Regions from separate parts of the Homo sapiens genome. Here region 1 is linked to region 2. The links are contacts of gene promoters, found by promoter capture Hi-C in human tissues and cell types (Jung and others, 2019). All regions are on one chromosome and are shown on one strand. The core of a region is centred on a gene start or on the middle of the fragment in contact, and the rest is flanking DNA. Distances in the headings are between cores, read along the strand shown. Region 1 overlaps AADACL2-AS1 (AADACL2 antisense RNA 1). Region 2 holds the start of AADAC (arylacetamide deacetylase).

Region 1 (4,913 bases), core at 722-3,221, 54 kb before region 2:
CTTCTCCATTATTCTCCTGAGTCACTCATGGTAAAGATGAAAATATTAGATTGAAACATAAAATTATTGATATTGGAACATTTTTACCTTATATATGGCAATTTTATATAGTTTAGTAAAATAAATTTAAAACTAACACTAAATTTAATTATTAGTTATAAAACTTATTGATTATCAAATTTAATAATTTAAATCTTCCAACTTCCAAAAAGAATAGAACATTTTAGATAAAAATCAAACATGTTAAAAATAAATAGTTAAAGTATTTATAGAAAGATTCTCCTAGCAACGTCTCTGGGAATGTTTACAAGCCACATTTAACAGCCCAAAAAGTCTGTGTGGAAAACAAAACTGGTTTAAGGGTCATGCTAATCTTCAAGGGTCACAAGCAGAGAAAGAAGAGGGCAATTAATCTAATTCGAGGACTTTCTTCTAAACCCGTAAGGAGAAACAATAATAATAATAACAACCCCCAGAAGTTGAAACAAATCAAGATTATTGGGGAGGATATTTTGGTGTTTCTGGATAGATATAAGCAAGATTACATGGTTACTTCCTTTTTCAATGAATGGTTTCATGTAGCAAAATAATAAAGGACAAACAGCAAAAGGAAAAACACAGCAGAAGGTATTTGTGCATGTCTCAAAATTCTTCCGGCTTCTAGAAATCAATAAATTATATTAACCAAATTTACTTTACCACGGAAAATGGTCTATTCAAAATAGGCACTCAAGCAATCTACTTCCTTTTCCTATGAAAATCCTTGTCATTTAAGAGCTACATTATTAATGGAAATTTTTGCATTACTGACTTTTTTCTGATTATACAGTTAAGAAAAATATGTGTCATATCTATTGGTACTGGGCATAACTCAAAGGAATTGTTCTGCTAAATTAAAACACATTATTTGTTAAAAGCATCTGACTACAGCTAAAATATTCTAAGTTCCTTGAAGTACTAACAATTAACCTAGAAACACAGCAAATTCACCTTTTATCTTTCAGTTTATATGCAAATTCCACAGCTAATTCATTTTTGATAATATGTGCTGAACCTTAATCACAGGTGTTTCTCTATACAAATAATGTTGTTTTGTTTCCTTGAATAGAAATAGCGGTATATGAAATTCAGGCATTTGTGTACAATTAGAGACAGATTTCATTTCCTCTTTCTCTCTCTTTATCTTTTTATTTTTATTTACTTATTTATTTATTTTTGAGACAGGGTCTTGTTCTGTCACCCAGGCTGGAGTGCAGTAGCATGACCATAACTCACTGCAGCCCTGATCTCCTGGGCTCAAGCGATCCTCCTGCCCTCAGCCTCCTGAGTAACTGGCACTACATGTGCACACCACCACGCCTGGTTAATTTATTTTTTTAGGTTTTTTGTAGAGAAAAGGTTAGCGAGGCTCATCTCGAACTCCTGAGCTCAGGCAATCCTTCCACCTCAGCCTCCCAAAGTACTGGATAGCACTTTGCTATCCAGGTATGAGGCATCACACCAGGCCAGATTTCATTCTTAACTGTTGCTGATCAAGGCATCTTTTTTATTTAAAGAAAAGAGTTTGCCTAAAATATTAAAGTAATTTATTAATTTGCTAATTGATTACTTGACTACTCAGTCTCTTCCAGTCACATTTACTGTATTTTGTACAAATTTGCTTGATTCCTGGAATATTTTACATTATTTATAGAAACAAAAAAGCAGCTAGTTTATTGTCTTGATGTACTTTTTCAATTGGCTACTAATTAACCACTCTTCATTTTACTTGCTTGAATATATTATTTGCCCTTGAAATAAGAACAAGAAGTCAGTCTGATTGAATCTCATTGAGCATCCTAGTAATTGAATTGAGAGGTTTTCAAAATTCCCTGGAGTACAAGAGTATGTGTTCATTAAGTGAGCTAAGTGGTTTGTGACTGTGTTATGAATTAAAGAAAATTACCTGCCCCTGTTAATAACACACTCAGTGGCATGATTCCTTTGTATTAGTATCTTTATCGCTATAATATAATCATTAATGTACTGACTACATTTAAACTTATATTTTATGCTGATTTGTTAACTGTAAAGCTGATAAAATTTGGCTTTACCATTAGGTCAGTATTGTAATAAAGCAAATAAAGAATTTTCAGAATGTAGCAGTCTGACAATTATAAGCAATGTAAAGCGTTAAGGAAATACCTCATTCTCTGCTTTAAAAAATATCTCCCCATCCTATATTTATTATTTATGTGTCCATATGTTGTATTTTTTCACTTTCATCTAACTTTAAATCCTAACATAATTTGTACTACTTGAAAGAATTATTGCCAGTCAAAATGCCATGTGTGGACTGTCAGATCTAGAAAAATGCTTCTAAGTCATTCACTCTAGATCCCTCATCATCACAACAAGGACATCAGCCTCAGAGTGGTTAGAGGGGATACGGCTGGGAAGGCTGACTCTGGGAAAAATGAAGAATATCTTGTGCACAATGGAAATGGGAGGACTCACCCTAGGGGAAGAGAGAGTGGCAGAGAACCCTCCCTGACAGCTGTGTGTATACACTGTTTCCTGATGTTAAAGGAGAAAATCACTCTTACCCATCCCCAGGCTAGGACCTAACAATGTCTATTCTAAAAAACATGAAAAAAAAAAAAAAAAAAAGAAGGAAAGAAAAACAATAGCAAGCTTGAGAGAGAGAATACAGCAGTTTGACCTTCCACCATGCACCCTTCTTGGGGAAAGGGATATAACAAGCCTTGTCCCTGCCAAAGGACCTCCAAACACAGAAACTTCTACCCAAAGACCATTTACTTTAAACAAAAGTCTGTGTTTGTTCACTGTGACGGCAGTAAAATGCAACAGCTGCATCAATTTGTTTTGCCACTGAAAAAGCCTGTCATCCTCAAACTTGAAGCATACTTTTTGAGTGAAAATGGCCCTTCCCTTTATTCTACTATTTCCCCCCTTTTCACTCAACATTTTTTGAAGACGTGTACGTTTATCTATCAGGAACTGGTGAAATACTAATTTATAGCAGAGATTAGAATACAGGGAAAATAAAACAAAACTGTTTCCAATAGCACTAGATTCTGGAATGTAAAATACCAAGCATTATGAGAGGAGGAAGAGAAGCAGTGATTAGAAAAGCACTTCACAGACTAATATCCAGAATCTACAAGGAACTTAAACAAATTTACAAGAAATAAACAACCCCTCAAAAAGTGGGTGAAGGATATGAACAGGGACTTCTCAAAAGAAGACATTTATGCAGCCAACAAATATGAAAAAAAATCTCATCGTCACTGATCATTAGAGAAATGCAAATCAAAACCACAATGAGATACCATCTCATGCCAGTTAGAATGGCAATCATTAAAAGTCAGAAAACAACAGATGCTGGAGAGGATGTGGAGAAATAGGAACGCTTTTACACTGTTGGTGGGAGTGTAAATTAGTTCAACCATTGTGGGAGACAGTGTGGTGATTCCTTAAGGATCTAGAACCAGAAATACCATTTGATCCAGCAATGCCATTATTGGGTATATACCCAAAGGAATATAAATCATGCTGCTATAAAGACACATGCACACGTATGTTTATTATGGCACTACTCAAAATAGCAAAGACTTGGAACCAGCCCAAATGTGCATCAATTTTAGACTGAATAAAGAAAATGTGGCACATATATACCATGGAATACTACACAGCCATAAAAAAGGATGAGTTCATGTCCTTTGCAGGGACATGGATGAAGCTGGAAACCATCATTCTCAGCAAACTAACACAGGAACAGAAAACCAAACACCACATGTTCTCATAAGTGGGAGTTGAACAATGAGAACACATGGACACAGGGAGGGGAACATCACACACTGGGGCCTGTTGTGGGGTGGGGGGCAAGGGGAGGGATAGCATTAGGTTAATACCTAATGTAGATGACAGGTTGATGTGTGCAGCAGACCGCCATGGAACATGTATACCTATGTAACAAACCTGCATGTTCTGCACATGTACCCCAGAACTTAAAGTATAATTTTAAAAAAGCCCTTCAGAAAGCAATATCTGATATTTCTCTTCTAATTTCTCTTCCATAGTTTTAACTCAGACATTAATATTTCATTATCTGTCTCACATCCTACCTTCTTTTCAATAATCAATTAAAAAAAACACATATTGATCACCTGCTATGTTCAAGGCAACATGTGAAATAAAAGGATAAATAGGCAGGCTAAAACCTGACCTCAAAAAACTTACAACCTTTTTATACTCAAAACTTTTAACAATTCTCAACAAGGTCTCATACCACATGAAACATCTCCTTTTTCTTTCCATAATTCCTGGCTGACAGTCTCCCCTTTTTATTGATTTGCTAAATCAAATAAAATGTAATATGACATCTTGAAAATTCATGTCATTATCTAAGCCTTGATTTTCTCATATATGAAGCAAATTTGTTTTAAAACCCTATAAAACAGCAACATTCTCTCCTCAGACCCTACTTTTTACAAAGACTTGGTTGTTAAACATTTATCAGTACACCACTCCATAAATCCTTGCATTTGTCATTATTATTGCCTATGGGAAATATATATATAAGACAAACACATCCAATGCGCGTGCACACACACACACACACACACATACTCAAAGACTACTTTTCCAACAAGTGCACATTTTAAAACTACTCTTTGGCAGAAACTGTACTAGTATTAGAGGACACGAACATGACTTAAGGAGGTACCCTGCCTTATCTGCAAGGGAGTATCTAGTTGAAAAAAAAAAAAAACAATATTGTGAAATTTTCCCCTCATCTTTGCCTCATTTTTTCCTGTGAGTCATGAAACAAATATTTCTTGAGAACGACTGGTAATTAAACAAGTATTTGCAGAAATGATTGCTGAAAAATTCTTTATTTCCTTTGGTGA
Region 2 (4,832 bases), core at 416-2,915:
TCAGGAATAAGAAAGGGCATTAAAACAACTTTTAAAAGGTATATCGACTGAGAGCTCTGAAAATACATTACTTTCATAAATTGTGGACAGAATGTAAGTAAATGAATGAATTAATTAATTAAAAGGCTACCAGAGAAGAATATATATATAATTGCTTAAATAAATAAAAATTAATATAAAGACTCCAAGAAAAAAATCAAAGACCTCTCACATATTGTAGCACAGACAGCAAATATGAGGGAAAAAAATGTGTCCCTTTCTTAAAGCTCTTTAATAGCTCTGCATCACATACAGAATTAAATCAAAACTTACTACCAGTGCCCACAAAGCACTGTATGATATGGCTTCTAACCTCTCCAAACTAATTGCAACAATTTCCCCATTAAACCCAAATGTTTCATATGATTTCTTGGACTTGTCAATATTCTGTAGCTGGGGTGTTTTTACTTGTTGGTGTCTCTGCTGGAAAACATTTTTCTTAGCACTTAGAATGGTTGGTTTCTTTTCATTCTTCTGGTCCCTAAGTAGCTGTTTCCTCTTCAGAATGGCTTTTTCTCACCATGCATACAGTAGCCCACTCTTGCCTTCTGCCCAAATTACTCTCTTTTCTTCCATCTTACCTCCTTAAAGGTACTTCTCATGAACTAAAATCATTTATTCATTTAATTCTAATTTATTTTTTTCTCCACCACTAGAATGTCAACTGTGTGGGGATAGACTACTTGTTTGCCTAATAGGATTTGAGACAGTTGAATTGTTGAATAAATGCAAAATAAAAGATTAATCCAGGAGTTACAACATTTATCTGGTTTAAGTTCTGAAAAGAGATTTGTTTTAATGAAGATAATAAAATAACCAAAGAAGTAATAGTAAAATATCATCAAGGATCCAGAGAGAGCTACACCTTTTTAATTTGCCAGCATCCAAGCTGCCCAGTTGCCAGGACACCCAGGTCTCCCTCCCCCTCTCATTTGTGCATATTGTGCCGTCTCGTGGTTAACCCTAGGCATGTGCCAACCAGCCTGCCCATTGAATCTTTTCTTGAGAACTTATTTACGTGTCCTTAGTCTATATTCTGAATCCCAAAGATAAGTGCATAAAAATCTGTAACTAACACAGTGCTGCATAATCAGATGATCTCTAATTTGAGTATAAAATTTAAGGAACAAACCATACCTAAGATAAGAATTTCAAAGGAGAGCCACTATCGTGATATTAAAGCTACCTAAACAAAGTACTTTTTAGCAAAACCTATTCAAATGACTCCTTGCTTGCTGTTCTTGATATTTTTTTAACATGATTCCAATACATAAGACAGAAAACAAACAACATTTCTAAGTAACACATTGTCAAAGGCCACAGCAGTTATTTTAAAAGATGAATAAGTCAATAAATCAAAAGAATAGAATCTTGAAAAACTTAATTCTCTGGGTCAAATGGTGGTGTATGCACATCTGAATTCATAAAATTCCAAACTTACCAAATTTTGTATAGTTTTCAGATGTGCGTTTATCCACATCATTCTCCATGGCTCCTCAACGTTATCTGGGAGAGGCGTATAAATATAATATGCTATGAGGATCCCCACAATCAGAAGGTACAGCGATTTTCTTCCCATGGTGAACGTCCCGCTTCTTGGTCTCTAGAAACACAGAAAGTAAACCTACATGATATGCCTGAATAGTGTACTTTAATAAGCAGTGTGCTTCAGCTCCACCCAAAAGCTTTGAAAACAGAGTTGCTCACTTAGTTTAAGGGTTGGCATAATAAGGCCAAAATTTTATCTGTTATCCAGATACAGTCATGTTAAGTGCAACTTCAAGGTTTAATGAGTAATAGGAAACTAGGGCAAAGTTTGTCAATGATCATGCTGTTATCTGTATTCCAATAAACAGCATGTATTGAGTAATAACTCGGGAACAAATTCTTTAACTCTAACAAAATTATCCATAGAAAACATACAGAATTCAGAATCTTTGTTTTAAAATAGCTTATCATGGAAAAAACAAATTATATATATACACACACACATATATATACATATATATGTGTGTGTGTATATATATATATTTTTTGATACAGAATCTTCCTCTGTCACCCAGGCTGAGTCCATAAGAAGCGTTTTGTGTCAATAAGTAGTTTGTTTGAGGGTGTGTTAGGCAGTGGGATTTCCATGCATTGGGAAGTGGGGACGGGGTTTAGGCAAGTGTTCCACCCTGCGATTTCTATGCAGGGCCTGTGTCAGTTATTGCAGAATCCTGATGTTTCTCCCGTGACTTGGGTCTGACGGGGGTTGGAGATTTTGAGAGTTTGTGTGGGGTTTTTTTCTGTTATTGTTTGGATGCCTGTCGGGGGAGTGAGTGTTAGGGTACAGTTGCATAAGCTAGAGGAGAGGGTGCCTAGGGGCACTCCTTTGGAAAGTTCACGCTTTATGCATAGGGATGCTGGTTGACTGAGTTCTGAGTCTGGGGTAAGTGTTCCTAAGATAACCTTGTGTTCTGCAGTATGTGTGGTAAGATTGAGTTTGTAACTTTTGAGTGCATTTACTTCTCCAAAACTTTGGTAGCGGGGGTGGAGGGTCATATTGCTGAGAACCCAGTCTTTGAGGGGAGCTGGGAAGACATCTTTTGATACGGTTTCTGAGGGGTGTACCAGCAGGCCTTGGCCAGGGAGGGGTTAGTTTGACTGAGTATCATATGTGCCTGTGGAATGGTGCGCTGTAGGTGGAGCGGTAGCGAGAAGGAGGAGGGAAGAAGGAGTAAATAGACAGAGAGCAAGTGTAAAGGTAAAGAATTCGGCTTCATCTGGAGTGAATTCCTGTAAATCCCCTTGAAATATAAGATTGGTGATCCAATCAAGGAATGCTGTGAGGGTGGGATGTTCTGGGTAGGACCATGAAAGGTTTTCTGTGATGCAGTGAAGGAAGAGTGTGAAATGCCAGGATGGGCAAAGACAGGACATTTAGGAGGGGCCACTATCTGTTGGTGGTGGCTATTATACCTGCTATGAGGAGGATTATGAGGCAAGAGGTTACGAATATTGAGTTTTTTTTGTCTGAAATTCCACCCAGGAGGCAAGACAGTATATATTCCTATGGCAAAGAGTAGAGTAAGTAGGGTGATTCCTGCAAGGGCAGCGTAATGGATGATTTCCATTAATAAGGGTTTGGATACTTAATGGTAAGGGGTGATAACTTATCTGCTATGGTTCATGAGGGAAGAGTGGGGTCTTCAGGCATGGGCGTTAGGCGGAGTCGAATTGGTCTGAGAAGAGTGCTGGAGTATTTGCAGGGAACAGCTGGTTGGTTAGTTGGTGATGGGTCAGCTGCAGGTGCTCTTTTTAACCTGGAAAGATGGTACCAAGACTTGTGTTCTCAAAGTTTGGCTGCAGTGGAGGTAGCGAGAAGGACTTGGAAAGGGATTTCGCACTTTGGCATGAGACTTGTTGATTTTTAGGAAGACATATTCTCCTGGAAGGAGTGTTTGGTCAGTGGTGCCTTGGTGGGGTTTTGTGGGGGCCTGGTCAGCTTGTTCGCAGAGGAGATGATGGATGAGGGAGAGTGTTGGGAGGTATTCTAATTGATACTCAGGAGGGGGTCTGTTTTGTAAGAGGAAAGGGCATCCATACATTAAGTCGAATGGACTGAGGAAGGAGGGGGCCTTTGGACTGGCTCTGATATGAGCCAGTGCTATGGGTAAAATGGAGGTCTAAGGTTTTTTAACCTCAAGTGTGAGTTTGGTTAACTGAGTTTTGAGAATTCCATTTGCCCTTTGGACTTTTCCAGATGACTGGGGCTGGTATGGGATATGGAGGCACCACTGAACACCAAGGGATTGAGAGACTTGTTGGGTAATTTGGGAGATGAAGCTAGGCCCATTATCTGATTGTATGGAACAAGGGAGACCAAATCTAGGGATGATTTTTGTTATGAGAATTTGAGAGATTTTTCTGAAGGGGTAGGAAATGCTTCTACCCAACCTGAAAAAGTGTCTATGAGAGTAAGAAAATATTTAGTTTTTTTGACAGGAGGCATGTGGGTGAAGTCTACTTGCCAGTCCTCCCCTGGGAGTGTTCCTCTGAGCTGATGTGTAGGGATGAGGAGAGGGCGGAGGGCCCCTTGGGAGGAAGTAACAGAGCATATATGACAGTTTGAGGTTATGTCCTTTAGTGAGGTGAATAGATGGGGGGAGGAGAAATAAGGGTGAAGGAGTAGGTACAGGGGGCGCCCACTGATATGGAAGGATTGGTGAAGAGATGTTGGAATTTCCTTGGTTTGCTCTTGGGGAAGAATGAGCTTTTGGTTTTTGATTATCCAGTCCCCTTGAAGGGAGGCTCCTTGCTGTAGTAGTGAAGAGTTTTTGGTGGGAGAGTATCTGGGTTGGACTGCTGGGGTGACAAGGAGGATGGGGGCAGGGATAGGAGAAAGAGAGGCCTGTTTCGGTGCTCATCAGCCTATTTCCTCTTGAGATTTCATCTGAACCTGCTTACTGTCCTCGACAGTGTATGACTCCTGCTTCAGTTGGGAGGTGTGCAGCCTGAAGGAGTTGGTAAATAAGGGGGCCATTAGTAATGAGGGTTCCTTTGGCAGTAAGGAATTTTTTCTCTTACCAGATGGCGGCATGAGAATGAAGAATGTGGTAGGCATACTTGGAGTCTGTGTATATGTTGACCTGTTTGTCCTTGGAGAGGGTTAGGGCTCTTGTGAGAGCTGAGTTCTGCTTTCTGGGAGGAGGTTTCTGGGGGTAGGGGTTTAGCCTCAATTACATGGTTTAAGGTAACTACTGCATACCCAACAATTTTGGGAGAGCCGGGGGCTCTGGAAGAGGAGTCAT

Evidence for each region. Contacts are between HindIII fragments. The study calls those that stand out against the background at their distance.
Region 1: a fragment that was not itself captured here is called in contact with the fragment with the promoter of AADAC in region 2 in 1 of the 25 tissues and cell types used here (heart right ventricle).

The regions. Positions count from the first base shown.
Region 1 is chr3:151,864,814-151,869,726 of GRCh38, reverse strand. The region is part of intron 1 of AADACL2-AS1 (AADACL2 antisense RNA 1); the gene reads left to right. Among named protein-coding and RNA genes, the nearest start is that of SUCNR1, 6.4 kb to the left of the region's middle. The HindIII fragment of the contact is 7,136 bases long and covers 1-4,913 here.
Region 2 is chr3:151,810,949-151,815,780 of GRCh38, reverse strand. It overlaps AADAC (arylacetamide deacetylase), which reads right to left and starts at 1,665. Exons shown (of 5, transcript NM_001086.3): 1 at 1,481-1,665. The coding sequence starts at 1,618. All of the region lies in intron 1 of AADACL2-AS1 (AADACL2 antisense RNA 1), which reads left to right. The HindIII fragment of the contact is 13,838 bases long and covers 476-4,832 here.